2 separate regions of the Homo sapiens genome follow, and region 1 is linked to region 2. The links are contacts of gene promoters, found by promoter capture Hi-C in blood cells and fetal thymus (Javierre and others, 2016). All regions are on one chromosome and are shown on one strand. The core of a region is centred on a gene start or on the middle of the fragment in contact, and the rest is flanking DNA. Distances in the headings are between cores, read along the strand shown. Region 1 overlaps CCSER2 (coiled-coil serine rich protein 2). Region 2 holds the start of LRIT1 (leucine rich repeat, Ig-like and transmembrane domains 1).

The links. The method cuts DNA at HindIII sites, captures the fragments that hold promoters and counts their contacts. A CHiCAGO score of 5 or more calls a contact.
Region 1: a fragment that was not itself captured here is called in contact with the fragment with the promoter of LRIT1 in region 2 in 1 of 17 cell types (activated CD4 T cells); the score reaches 5.2 in activated CD4 T cells.

The regions. Positions count from the first base shown.
Region 1 is chr10:84,493,088-84,500,516 of GRCh38, forward strand. The region is part of intron 9 of CCSER2 (coiled-coil serine rich protein 2); the gene reads left to right. Among named protein-coding and RNA genes, the nearest start is that of CCSER2, 170 kb to the left of the region's middle. The HindIII fragment of the contact is 969 bases long and covers 4,130-5,098 here.
Region 2 is chr10:84,235,846-84,243,437 of GRCh38, forward strand. LRIT1 (leucine rich repeat, Ig-like and transmembrane domains 1) reads right to left here and starts at 5,701. Exons shown (of 4, transcript NM_015613.3): 1 at 5,473-5,701; 2 at 1,375-1,841. The coding sequence starts at 5,594. The HindIII fragment of the contact is 15,150 bases long and covers 1-6,716 here.

The DNA.
Region 1 (7,429 bases), core at 3,364-5,863, 260 kb after region 2:
CCTGGAGATTTCTTTTTTGGGAGTTTTAAAGTTATAAATTCAACTTCTTTAATAGTTATTGACCTATTCAAATGACTTCTTTCATCTTGGATGAATTTTGATAGTTTGTGGTTTTGAGGAATTGGCCCTTTTTCTCAGTTGTCAAATATATGACTGTAAAGTTGTTCATAATATTCCTTTATTACCTTAATGGCTGGAGGGTCTGTAGTGATATTCCTTATTTCATTCTGATTTTGGTAATTTACCTTCTCTCTTTTTCTTTGTCAGTCTTGCTAGTGGTTTGTCAATTTTACAGATCTTTTCAAAGAACCAACATTTTGTTTTCTTGATTTTCTCTGTTTTTCTATGTTCAATTTCAAGGATCCTGCTCTTTTATAGTGAAAGTGAGTTTATTAGAGAAGTAAAGAAACAAAAGAATTGTTACTCCATAGACAGAGCCCTGAGGGCTGCTAGTTGGCTATTTTTAATGGTTATTTCTCAATCATATGCTAAGCAAGGGGTGGATTATTCATGAGTTTTCCGAGAAAGGAACGAGAATTTCCCAAAACTTTAGGTTTCTCTTCCTTTTAAACTATATAGGGCAGCAGTCCCCAACCTTTTTGACATCAGGGACTGGTTTCATGGAAGACAACTTTTCCACAGATGGGGAGAGGGTTGTGGGAGCAGTGTGGATGGTTTCAGGATGATTCAAGTGCATTACATTTATTGTGCACTTTATTTCTATTATGATTACATTGTAATATATAATGAAATAATTATACAACTCACCATAATGTGGAATCAGTGGGAGCCCTGAGCTTATTTTTATGCAGCTAGATGGTCCTGTCTGGGGGTGATGGGAGACAGTGACAGATTATCTGGCATTAGATTATCATAAGGAGCAAGCAACCTAGATTTCTCGCATGTGCAGTTCACAATAAAGTTCCTGCTTCTGTGAGAATCTAATGCTGCTGCTGATCTTACTGGAGGCAGAGTTCAGGTGATAATGCAAGCAGTGGGCAGTAGCTGTAAATACAGATGAAGCTTCAACTCAACTGGCCTGCTGCTCACCTCCTGCTGTGTTGTCAGGTTGCTAATAGCCCATGGATTGGTACTGGTCCGTGGCCCAGGGGTTGGAGACCCATGATGTAGGGTAACTTCCAGACATTCCGATGGCATTTGTGAACTGTCAGGTGCTGGTGGGAGTGTCTTTTGGCATGTTAATTTATTATAATTAGCATATAATGAGCAGTAAGGATGACCAGAGGTCACTTTCATTGCCATCTTGGTTGTGGTGGGTTTTGGCCAGCTTCTTTACTGCAACATGTTTTATCGGCAGGGTCTTTGTGAACTGTTATCTTAATGCCAACCTTCTCATCCAGTGACTCATCCGGTGACTGAGAATGCCTAACCTCCTGGGAATGTAGTCCAGCTGGTCTTATCCTCATTTTACCCAGCCCCTGTTCAAGATGGAATTGCTCTGATTCAAATGCTTCTATTTCCCCCTCCCCTTTACAAGGGGACCCTTAATCCTAAAGGTTGTAGAGGGACCAAGATCCATCTTCTGTAGTATCCTTTGGCTTAATAGGGGTGATGATATTCCTTCCTAACTTGTAGGGTCTCTTGTATTCAAGGTAGAGTGAAGCGCAGTCATAAAGCAGCTATGTGGTGAAAGCCATTCATAACTCTGAGTCCTGACAAAAGGCGATATTTGGGAGACCAAAGTATTATCTGTTCATGGTTCGTTATGGAATATATTACCGGAAAGGGGTCTGATCCAGACCCCAAGAGAGGGTTCTTGGATCTCACACAGGAAATTTTGGGTGAGTCCACAGAGTAAAGTGAAAATGAGTTTATTAGAGAAGTAAAGAAACAAAAGAATGGTTACACCACAAAACTGCTGATGTCTGCTTTTTTTTTTTTTTCTTTCTTCTTACTTTGGGTTTATTTTGGTCTTATTTTCTCTAGTTTCTTAAGACATCAGTTTAGCTTATTGATGGAATTTTTTTCTCTTTTCTGTCTCTACTTCAGCTGTTTCCTACATATTATATATTTTTTCAGCTGTTTCCTATACATTATGTATTTTCTTTTGCATTCAGTTTGATATGGTTTTTTTTTTTTTTCTCTTGAGACTTCCTCTCTGACTGACCCATGGATAACTTAGGGGTATGAATGTTAGTATCCAAGTGTTTGGACATATTCTTGTCATCTTTCTGTTATTGATTTCTAATTTGATCCCATTGTGGTCAGAGAACACATTCTGTATAATTTCAATATTTTAACTTTGTTGTGGTTTGTCTTGTGGCCCAAACTATGGTCTGTCTTGGTAAATGTTCTGTGGATTCTTGAAAAGATTGCTTTTTGCTATTGTTGGATAGAATATTCTGTAAGCATTGACTAGGTGCTGTTGTTAGTGGTGTCCTTGAGTTTTATGTCATTGCTGATTTTCTTGTCTAGTTATTTTTATCAGTTGTTGGGATGGGGTGTTGAGCTCTCCAACTGTAATTGTAGATTTGGCGATTCTCTCAGTTTTATGAGATTATGCTTCAGCTACTATACGTTTCTGCAGTTTGGTGTGCTGTTAGGATCACTGTGTCTTCTTGGTAGATTAACCTTTTTATCATTTTGTGAGGTCTCTTTCTATATGTGGGTATTCTTTTTGCTCTGAAGTCTATTTGATAATAATATAAGCACATCAAATTTCTTTTGTTTTTTTTTTTTGGCGTGGTATATCGTTTTCATCTTTTATTTTAAAATATATATATTTTTATACCTAACATGAATTTCCTGTAATCTGCATATAGTTAGGCCATGAATCTACCAATCTGTCTTTTAATGGGTATATTTCAGCCCTTTATATTTAATGTAATTTTTGCTATGTAAGTCTGCCATTTTATTTTTTTCTTTTTTCTTTATTTCTGTTTTTTCTTTTCTGTATATTAGTTTTTTAATAATTCTATTTTTATTTATATATAGTGTTTTGAGTTTATGTCTTTATAATAATGTTTTAGTTGTTGCTGTAGGCATTATATTTCACACACACATACATATATATTTAACTATATATAGTCTACTACATGTAGAAACTTTATGTCCTTTTAAGTCCCTTTTCCTCTCCCATTTATAAGTTTCTTAAATATTTTTTATGCGTATTTTAAGAAGTACATAAGAAAATGTCACAGCCATACAAGGGTGGAGGCCTACACTCCCCAGTCCTCCCTTTCTTTTTTCTTTTTTGAGACGGAGTCTCGCTCTGTCGCCCAGGCTGGAGTGCAGTGGGGTGATCTCGGCTCACAGCAAGCTCCGCCTCCTGGGTTCATGCTGTTCTCCTGCCTCAGCCTCCCAAGTAGCTGGGACTACAGGCGCCCGCCACCACGCCCGGCTAATTTTTTGTATTTTTAGTAGAGATGGGGTTTCACCATGTTAGCCAGGATGGTCTGGATCTCCTGACCTCGTGATCTGCCCGCCTCGGCCTCCCAAAGTGCTGGGATTACAGGCATGAGCCACCGCGCCCGGCCTTCCCAGTCCTCCCTTTCTGATGGGAATGGGGGCTGGGGCCACAGGTTTTTCTGTGGTGTTAGGTAGATTACTGGATACAAGTTTCCTGCATTGCTAGTCTTCCTCTTTCCTGATCCTTTGGCTAGAGTGTGCAGGCTTTCTTAAATTTTTTTTTTGTGTGTGTTCCTTGTCATTTCCAGGGGCTGGCTTCTCTATCACTCATTTTAGGATACATTAGGCAAAAAGAAAATCACCATATTTTTCCTTGGGTCCCAAGCTGGTCTCACTTTTTCTCTCTACCTTTCAGAATATTGTGTTTTATATATAGTGCCCAGGGTTTTTAGCTGTATTTGACAGCAGGAAAAGGGAGAAGTATGTCTACTCCATCTTTTCCTGAAACTGGAATTCCCTGTTCTATTAAATGCTGATCAGAGTATGTTATTTCTACTCTCTATAAGTAAATTGACAAGAAGCTAAGTAGTTGACACCAAGGAAAGTAAGAGAGCTATTATTTTCAGGGTGGTTATATTTAATAGAAGAATTTTTAAGATACTCAAATCAAAGTAATGAAAAGAGGAAGAAAGATTCCACCAATTGCTGTGGGTGTTTATAAACAAGAATGATCATAATTAATTTAGGCAGGATCAGGAAAAGCTTTTAGGAAATGGGTTTGAAAGAACCTAAGGGGGCTGGATAAGATTTTGACAGATGGGTAGAGAAGTGGAAGACGCATTGTAGGTGGCAGAAATAAAATGAGTAACATTCTTTGTCTTTCTGGGCATAAGCTCTGATGGCATACAACTGTTTGATAGGCTAATAGATGGGTGCCCCTTGGCGGTGGCAGGCAGCGCTGTTTATGTATTTATTTCACAAGGTTGTCTTTCCCTTCTTATACTCAGACCTATGCCAGAGATTATGATTTGTTGGTCTTGGGGAAATAAAGACAGATATCATTGTTTTTGGTTTTAAAATTTCTTAGGTGGTTATAGTGTGTGGCCGGGATTGACAGATGCTACAGCTGCATCTCTAGATAAACACAGTAAATTAATTTAATTTTGTTTAAATCAGTAAATAGTTAACTTAGTGTCTGCTACATGCTGGGGGAGTTTTAGGCTATAGAAGGTGGGACATCTAATATCTTTTAAAACTCCTGCGAACTTATAGGTACTGTGACAGATACTTTCACCTAAATTATTTCAGGAATTAATGATCTAGCAGGAGAGACAATTTAATACAAAGTTGATTGTTTTAAATGCCATATAAATAGAGTTACAAAATTAAAAATAGAGTTATAAAATTACTGGAGTGGAGATGGGGACAGATATGAGTAACTAAATTATAGGAACTAAAAGTAAGAGGGTTCTTCGAGATGAACCAGTCCAGCCTCTGCATCTGACAAATAAGGAAACTGAGGCTCAAAAATCAGTAATTTTCTCAAGGTTACAAGGCTTGGGAAAGATCCAAGGAAAAAAAGTTTCCCTGATTCCAAGGTCAGTGCTATTTCCACAGACCTGCAAAGGTAAACATACCTCTTTGGTGAAGGAAACAATGACTGTTTTCTTAAACATGTCTATGAAGTTACCATCTGAAAGTTTCTTTACTTAGTAGTACAGTGGGTAGAAGCTTGGTTCTGCAAAACGCATAGGGAGGATTTGGTTGAGAATTTGTTTAGTATAAATATAGCCTTTGAACCAAAACATTTCACAAACAGCATAACAGCAGGTAGTATCTATGGAGAGCATCTGGGGTCATCACCTTATTCAATGTTTTCTAAGCTGTTTTTGCCAAATTAGCAAAAGAAAAAAGTATAATAATTTCAAAAGATAAGATTTTTATTTACTAGAATATCCTAAAGATTGTTAATTTAGTTTTTGTGGCTTTTTTTTTTCCCTTCATCAACATAGAAAATGGATCTTTTATGTTTCTGTTTTATATTGAACAATGTGGGATCACCCTTAAATTTAAAGAAGTATTTGATTATACCTGAGTCAAAGAATGTTGATACGGAAAGTGAGAAAAATTTTTTTCATTTCAGACCCTTCATAAGATCTGTAAACACTGTTAAACTATTATCGTAATTTTTAATACAATATTATTTTTAAGTCAGATTAATTGGTCTGAAAAAATATACATAATTTCTTTTGCAGATTTAACTGGGTATGATCATGATTTATAGGCTGATTTTCCTTAATGATATTTTAAGAGTGTTTCAGTAGATTTTTTTGTGCATATGTTTCAGTCAGTAAGGAGGCTAAGGACATAAGACCCAATATGGTTCCCTTTGTATAACATTGAACAGTTACTTTCTTGAAAAAAGTTTTTTCTGTAAAGTGAGGACATTGAAGTAAATGACATTTCAGGAGTATCGTAGTTCTGATAATCTGTGATTAAAATAAGTAAAGCTAAAAAGCCACAAGTTATTGAAATTAAAAAGCATGTCCACGTAACCAGTGGCCTACATGTCACATTACAACATCCTGAATCTTTTTTAATGCTGTGTTGGTTTTGCTAACTTTAGCTAATGTTCTTTATTTTTACCTGCTAATCCTCTGAAAACCTGTGATTTAAGAAGAAATTTTATTTTTTTTTGAGACGGAGTCTTGCTCTGTTGCCCAGGCTGGAATGCAGTGGCGTCATCTCGGCTCACTGCAACCTCCACCTCCCAGGTTCAAGCAATTCTCCTGCCTTAGCCTCCCGAGTAACTGGTTTTACAGGTGGCTGCCACCACACCTGGCTAATTTTTGTAGTTTTAGTAAAGACAGGGTTTCACCATTTTGGCCAGGCTGGTCTTCAACTCCTGACCTCGTGATCCACCCGCCTCATCCTCCCAAAGTGCTGGGATTACATGCGTGAGCCCACTGCACCCGGCCGAAATAAAAATTTTTAGATGATAATTTTTTTGTATTGCCTGATTCACAAATTGGTGCATTTTCTGTGTGTTTAACACCTAAAGTCTATCTCCCCCTTTAAATTCCTTCTTTTTCTGCAAAAGACTGGAATCTGCTACTTTAACAAGAGATATATGATGATAAATGTAATGTATACCGGAAAGAATATATTATTTCTTGTACATTGTACTACAAATATTAGAGGAAAATAATTTTTTAAAAAAATATTAAAAATAACTAGGTTTGGATTATGATGTATTTTTAGTAATTTGAGCTGCCTGTATTTTAAAAAAATGAAATCTGTCTTCTCGTTAACACTATTGCTCTGTGTTATTTAAAAGTAAAACAAAGTATGACTTGGTTTCTCTATTTTTTGGTTCCCTTTTTTATTATACCTCCCTACCCCATCTCTCTCTGCACAGGGTGGGTATTCTGCTCCCTCCTTCTCTCCTTGGCAGGGCTCCTTCCAGGGGATCCCACGGACTGTTCCACCGCACCGCAGACAGAGTGAGTCTGTGTCTCTCACTCCTATCCTGCTCTGGCTTCCCCTTCATGGTATTTCCCTTCTGCATGACCTGTTCCTCCCCAGCACCTCCTTTTCTATCCTGAGTGCTCTGCAGGCATCTGCTAAAGCAGCACTCTCTGTGGTCTCCTCTCTTAACACTTCCTTTTACTGCATGTAAACAGACCTCTACTTAGAGCCTTATGGAAGCTGTCTGAGGTTAATTTCATTCTAATACTGTTTAAACCTATTGCCAGTGACCCTAGACCTACTGACATGCATCTGTCTTTAATGCATTTTCAAAACCTTGAAATATGTGAATAAAAATTGTTGTGTTATCTAATTGTTTTAAAAAGTGTACATGTGATCTACAATGGTATGATGGACAGATGCATAATGTGTGGGGAGCAGGCTTACTAGACCATTGCACATTTCTTTAAATAATATTTCCTAATTAAGGGCTTGGATTGCATTTCACTGTCATCTAAAATAAAGATATTTCTAATTGTTTTTTCTAAAAGTGGTTTAAAACAACTAAGATGTTTTTGTAATTTATCAGCTT
Region 2 (7,592 bases), core at 4,451-6,950:
AGTGATCCACCCGTCTCGGCCTCCCAAAGTGCTGGGGTTACAGGTGTGAGCCCCCGTACCCGGCCCAGATGGGTTTTTAAATGTCTAATATGCACACTCTGTGACCTGATAACTCCACTTCTCAGTTCCTATCCTAGAGAAACATTGATGTGCACAAGAACGTATTGCCGGCCGGGTGCGGTGGCTCACACCTGTAATCCCAGCACTTTGGGAGGCCGAGGTGGGTGGATCACGAGGTCAGGAGATCGAGACCATCCTGGCTAACATGGTGAAACCCCGTCTCTACTAAATATACAAAAAATTAGCCAGGCGTGGTGGCAGGCGCCTGTAGTCCCAGCTACTCGGGAGGCTGAGGCAGGAGAATGGTGTGAACCCGGGAGGCAGAGCTTGCAGTGAGCCGAGGTCGTGCCACTGGACTCCATCCTGGGCGACAGAGCAAGACTCCGTCTCAAAAAAAAAAAAAGGAATGTATTGCCAAGAATGTTCTCTGTTGCATCATAGGTGTTACCAAATAATGGAAACAATGTAAAAGTCCATTAAAGGGGGAATGGCTAAATAAACTATAGTATAAATATGTTTATAACATAGTGCAGATATAGTATACTATAGAATATTGTGCAGTAGTTTTAAAAATAAACTTGATCCATTTGTAGTAATTTAGAAAGATCTACGAGATATAGTGTTGGGTCAAAAAGTTAGCGTTGGTTAGTATGTATGACAAAATTTTATGTAAAACATACACATAACTTTTCTGAATCCATGTATGTATGTGTGTATATGTATATACATATGCATATGAAATGTATCTGAACAGATAGGGAGCTTGCATATAAATATGATAATAGTAACTACTTTTGGGAAGGGGTTGGAATAGGGAGAGAGGACAGAAGGGTCTTTAACCTCTTCTGCAATATTTTAAACATTTGTATTTATTCATGTATGAGTTGTATAATTCAAATCAATTTTCCAGAATGAATTATGCCCCTTCTGTCATTCTCAGGACCAGGCAGGTGCCTTGGGCAGGAAAGATCTGGTTCACATGGTAAGCTGTTGGTTTGTTAAGAACAGGAAGGAACCGAAAAAATAGCAGGTCCAGCTGGTGTAGTGTACTAACCCATTCAGCTCTGAGTTGGGAAATTGAGTCTCAGGGGCCTTCTCCTGGTTGTATGACCTGGAAAGACCTCTCTTATGACTGCGATATGAACTGCCACAGTCTGGCTTGTGGATTGAGCTCCTAAACCCGCCGCTCTTGTGGATCTCACTGTCTTTGCTCAAACCTGGAAGGAAGGTATGATTTCAATTTTCCAAATAATCGAAACTCAGGGAAGCGTGGTAACTTGCCTAAGACCCCAGGTGAAGGTTGCCGACCCTTACCTAGGACCCGCCTGGGGTGGTGGCCGGGAGGAAAGATACCGGTCTCCAGGTGAGCCCAGGAGACGATGAGCTCCTGCGGGAGCCTCATCAGCTGGTTGCTGGAGAGGTCGAGGAAGGTGAGGTTCTCCAGGAAGCGCGCGGCCTCAGCGGGCACAGCCGAGAGGCGGTTGGCCTGCAGGTCCAGCAGCCGCAGCTTGGGGGCGTCCCTGAGCGCCGCCCAGGGGAAGGCGGCCAGGCGGTTCCCGGGCAGCCGCAGCTCCCGCAGGCGTCGCAGGCCCCGCAGCATGAGGGCGTTGAGCTCGCTGAGGGCGTTGTAAGGCAGCCACAGCTGCTCCAGGCGGCCCAGGGGCCTGAAGGCCTCGCCAGGAACCCTGCGTATGGCCGTCCGCTCCAGGCGCAGTCTGGAGGTGTCCGGGGGGATGGACGCCGGGGGCAGGGTCATGTCGGGGTCGTTGCACACTACTGTCCTGCTGGCAGAAATGAGGGATAGTTGAGCAAGGATCCTGCCGGGTCTGGGATCTCCCACCGCTACCTCCCTTCGCGAGGCCTCCAGTTCTGCCTGTTATCACCGGACACCCACACCAGAGTCCAAGCCATGACGGGGACCTGGAGAGGGGCCCGGAGTAAGCAGACCTACTTTTCCCTTTGCAGAGGTCTTGCTCTCAGAGCCTTTCACAATGGTCCCAGGAAGGTGATTTGGTCTTCACGGTCCGGCAAGACCCCACCCTTACACTGTTACGACCCATAACAGCCCGCAGCACCCACAGTGCACTAAGAATGAACAGCATTAATAAACCCCATGATCGCGTTGTGCACTGTTGCTTTGCAAATATGCGTTAGAAGTGTTCGTTTGGCCGGGCACAGTGGCTCACGCCTGTAATCCCAGCACTTTGGGAGGTGGAGGCGGGTGGATCACCTGAGGTCAGGAGTTCAAGATTAGCCTGGCCAACATGGTGAAACCTTGTCTCTACTAAAAAATACAAAAATTAGCCAGGCATTGTGGTGCACCCCTGTAGTCCCAGCTACTCGGGAGGCTGAGGCGGGACAATCGCTTGAACCTGGGAGGCAGAGGTTGCAGTGAGCCGAGATCACCCCACTGCACTCCAGCCTGGGTGACACAGCAAGACTGTCTCAAAAAAAAAAAAAAAGTGTTCGTTTGTTAAATTATACCTCAATTTTTGTAACTGTTTTGGTTTATCGTTTAACAAAAAATATACCAAGGACATCAAAAATGAAACCACCTCAAGTCTCTCCCACCTCTGCGGAGCCATGCGATCGATGATCAAGTTGTTTAAGAGCCAGGACTTGGCAGCCCCACAGCTGGATTCACACCTGGGCTCTTTGCTTGCTGGCTGTGTGTCCTTGAGTACATTAGGTAACCTCTCTTTTCCTCAGTTTTGCCATCAAATAGACCCCACAAGGTGGTTATGGGGTTTAAATGAGGTAATGCATGTGGAAGCCCAGCACATTGCCTGCCACCCTGCATGAGCCCAAGGGTATGGATCACTGTCATCAATGTTTGCATCTCAGCACTGCAAGTAGATCGGGTCAGTCTTATCAGCTCTTCTACCCAAACCACGACTTCTTAAACCTTATTCCATTAAGTTTGAGACTAAAGCAGAGGATAGAGAGATAATAGGAGGCAGTCCCTGCCCTCAAGAAGCCTACATTTCAGGGCTATGTTTTATACTACGTAAACTGAAAACAAAATCCTAAGCCCCCCAGCCACTGAACAGGCCCTTCTAAGGGAGGTTGTTCTCTTGTAATAGCATAACCTACTGGTGATATCAGGCTTTCCTGGAGGTGCACACACATATCACCAGCATCCCTCAGCATAAGTCTATGCTCCACTTAAAGGCAGCTGGGCTGGGCTTGTTTTTTCTTGTAAACAGTGTCCACAAACAGCACGGATATTCTTACTCACTCCTTTTGAGCAAATATACATGGAACTCTTACTAAGTGATGAGCAATTCAGAAGAGAATCAGCCTCATAGCCCCTGTCTCCATACAGTGTGTAATCTAGCTCAGGAAGAAAGAGCATTTACAGCAATGATATTTCCAGATACTACAATAGGTTCGGGCAGGTGTGATAGCTCATGCTTGTAGTCCCAGCTACTCAGAAGGCTGAGGTGGGAAGGTGGCTTGAGCCTAGGAGTTGGAAGCTACAGTGAGCTATGATTGTGCCACTGCACTCCAGCCTGGGTGACAGAGCAAGACCCTGTCTCAAAAAAAGTAATACAGGTTTGGGTATTGCAAGGAGGAAGGTCTGGATGTAGGTGAGAGAAAGACAGGTGATTGGAAAACTTATCTTGAACGGGAGAGAAAACGGTAAAAGGGGCATTTAAAGGAAACCATAAGAACTCAATGCAAGCCTACACCACAGCTCAAACCTCCAGCACAACTCCGGGTGGGGTAAAACCAGAGGCAAACTGGGACAAACAGCATGGGCACAAATCCATTCAGATGCATAGCCCAGCTCCTCCCAGGCAACCCCAGTGCCCACAGGCACACACTTCACGATACAACAGCTCAGACATAAAGGCTGGGCTCTCTGAGAGGCCCAGGTTAGAGAGGGATCTGAGGAAGGCTTCTGACATGCAGAACGAGCTTTGGTCTAACTGCACAGTCTGTGCCCATAGCCACAGGGGACCTCAGGGCCCGCTACCACCTTTCATGGCCTCATAGGACCCTCCATGCAGATGGGCTGGTGCATGTTAGCCATGGGATAGTCAGGCGGGTAGAACCAAGAGCTCTGGCTTCAGAGAAGGGAATGCCCACTGACTTACATTAGCGGCCCTAGAAACTCATTTTCCATCTTAAGATTAACTCTGCTGCCTGGAACTTACCACTGGTCCCTGCCCATGGCAGCATCACCAGATAAGTGTTCTGAAAACTGAATCGGAATGCCTGGGTTCCAGGACCGGTTTTGTCAATGATGCTGTGTGGCTTTCAGCCCTATGCCTTCTACGGGTGGTGGGAGGCTTTTTGTCACTCCAGTGACACTGCCCAGGCTGGGAACAGCAGGCTGTTCAGGGCTCAGCCTGGCTTCTACTGGGGACAGGACCCTTACACTTCATATGAGTTGATGCCTTGGACACTTGGGCTACAGTGGAGCTCATTCTGGTTCTCAGATCATTTGAGGTGTCTTTTCTTAGTGGTTCTTCTCCATTCTCCTCTCATCCCCCAATCAACTCGACATTCATTGCCAAGATTATTAAAAGGGTAGCTCCAATAACATTGTTCCCAGGATCAGAAACCATCAGTGGCTCAGAAACCATGCAGAGGTCATTAATGGATAAGCTAAAGAAGTTGGAGAAAAGATGATTTAAACGTTGCTAAAGAAAAGAAGAAAATGAGCAGTAGTGGAAGAGCAAGGGTCCACAAGCCACAGTGGCATGGGAATGTCCCATGAAAGGAGAGGAGGAGAGAATGGAGGTGCTCTGAGGGATCAGACAGAGGGTGGGGAAAGTCAAGGAAAAGGCTGGGGATGGAAGGAAGCATGCTTGTCATGGGATGGGCACTCCTGGCTTTTGGAGCACTCATAAAAAGGTATTGAGGCTGAGGCTCCTGGGATCTGGCCAGCGAAGATGGAGAGGAGGAAGAGAATGAGAGGCAAGTGGTCCCATCATGGGTGGGGTTGTAGGAAATGCCTGGGATATGATTGAATATTGTAGAGAGGTCAGGCAAGAGAGTGCAAGTGGCCTGGGAAAGAAGGGGCTGGGGAAATATAGAAAAGAAGAGGGAATAGAAAAAATAAAAGAGAAGAAAAAGCAGTAAGGGAGGAGATTTCCTGGACCTTTAAGGAGGGCTCTTCACCAGGAGCCTGGAGGAGGACTTAGGAAGGACTTCTTAGAACTGACATACTTGTGCCTCACCCTCGGGCCCATGTGTATAGATACCTGGTACCTCTCGAATAGAGTCACCCCCTTGCCTGCTGGAAAACAATGCAGCACAGTCCACCCCATAGGATCCCTGGTCCTCAAGGGCCAAGGGAGATGAAGACCTCACCCAGGGCCCCAGCTCCAACTCCTCCCAACCCAGCCTAGCTGGCAAAGCAATGGAGGCTGGGCTGCCCGTCCCACGCACCCGGTACCATACCTGGCCTTGCTGCCATCACCCATGATATGGAGGCTGCAGCTGCATTGAGAGGGGCAGAAGCCCCGGGCCTGGGGGGGCCACGCAAGGGCCAAGAGCCAGAGCATGCCTAATGCCACCCTCATGGCTCCTGGCTCCTCTCTGGCCCAGGCAGGGGCCTGTCCCTGGACCGCTCCGTCCCACCGGCCCAGCAAGCTCAGCAGCTGCCCACTTGCTCGCCAGCCCCTTACACCCCCTCCTGAGGCCATCGGATAAACATGGACAGACTGGGGATTAGGGAGGGGAGTCCCAGCCGCAGCACTCAGAGGCTTATTGCTTTCTGAATCACTCAGTCCTGAGGGTAGGGGCGGGGGACCCCCTTCCATAGCAATATCCACAGGCCCAGAGAGGCCAGGGCAGGGCACAGCAAAGCAAGACAAGTAGGCAGCTTTCCAGAGGCGAGCAGCCATGGGACTGTCATCTGCAAAGCATCCCATCCCAACAAGGCCACGGACAACACAGACCCCACTGGAGTGCCAGGGAAGATGGAGAAAGAACCCCCGCCTCAGTAAGGGCCTTTGGAAATTCTTTCCTGTGACACTGTCTCATAGCAAAAAAGCAGTGAAATGAAGCAACTCTTCCTGATGGTGCTAAAGGCATTGGAAGGAGGCTAAGCTCTGGACCCAGGCTTCCTGGGGTCAAATCCCAGCTGCTCCATTAAGGGGCTGTGACCTTGGGTGAGTCACATTATCTCTTGGCCTCTGTGTCCTTATCTGACAAAGAGAAATAAAGTTACTTCATGCAGGGTGTTTGTGAAAATCAAACTCAAATTCCAAGGCCTTGACAGCCTGTGGGAACAGAAGCTCTCTCACAAGTTGTAAGTGCCCAGTTTCACTGGTACTTATAAGACCCTACTTACAGAAGAACTGGACAGATTCAGATATTTTGGGGAGACATCAGAGGTGTCTCTCATGAGCCCACAAACTGTCCCAGGCTGCCAGGCAAACAGCTGCCTGCCTTGAGTGCCCCATGGATATGGACTCAACACACTACTATTTCAGCTGAGCCCTTCTGGGCATTGCTACGAATGCCAAAGGTGGAGATGTCTCCACATAAGGGACAAGGGCACCCCTCTCCTCAAGGTGCCCTACTCCAAGGAGGGCCCCAGAGAGGTAGCTCAGAGAGGTCTTAGAGAAGGCACTTTCAGGTTTTTTTGGAGACAGGACCCCAACCTCTAATAAGGGCCTTTGGAAATTCTCCATCCATAAAGCTTTGTTTTGCTTTATAGGGACAGGGTTGCTCTGTCACTCAGAGTGGAGTGCAATGGTGTAATCATAGCTCACTGTAGCCCCGAACTCCTGAGCTCAAGCCATCCTCCTGCCTCAGCCTCGCAAGTAGCTGGAACTGCAGGCAACCACCACCATGTTTGGCTATTTTTAAAAAATTATTTTTTGCAGTCAGGGTCTTGCCATGTTGCCCAGGATGGTCTCAAACTCCTGGCCTCAAGCGATCCTCCTACCTCAGTCTCCCAAAGTGCTGGGATTACAGGCCTGAGCCACTGCACCCAGACTAATTTCAATTTTTACTTATTCTCTCCTAACCCTATCTCGCCCCACCATATCTACTCAAGATGCCAGTGGGGACTGACCAGGGATGATTCCCAGCAGTAGACACTCAGTCGACTCATTCATTCATTCTTCACATTTGACCCTGAGGCATTGTTCTCTGGTCCAGCATGCCCTACCTATGTTGTTTGGCTTTTCTAGAAGGTTCCCCAGTCCTTCATGCCTGTGGCTCCAGGCAGGCCTAGACCAGTGAGGTATGACCTGCAAAGATATCTGGGGCCCCAGTGCACACATAAAATGCCTAGCTCGGAGCCAGGTCTGTTTCAACAATACTGGCTTCTCATTCTTTCCTTCCTTCCAATGCAGCCAGTAGGATTTTCTCAGTGCTTCCCAGCTATACTTCCACCTCCCCAAACCCAGCCGTCAGCTTGCCTGTTCCCACATCTCTGCTTCTTCCTCCTTGTGTCTTTTGCCCAAATGAACTTTACCCTTTAATCTTGGCCTTGCCCTGCTTTATCTCCTCTCATGAAGGCTTTTGTGATCTCGAAGGCATGAAAAAAGGACTGACATATGTATTAA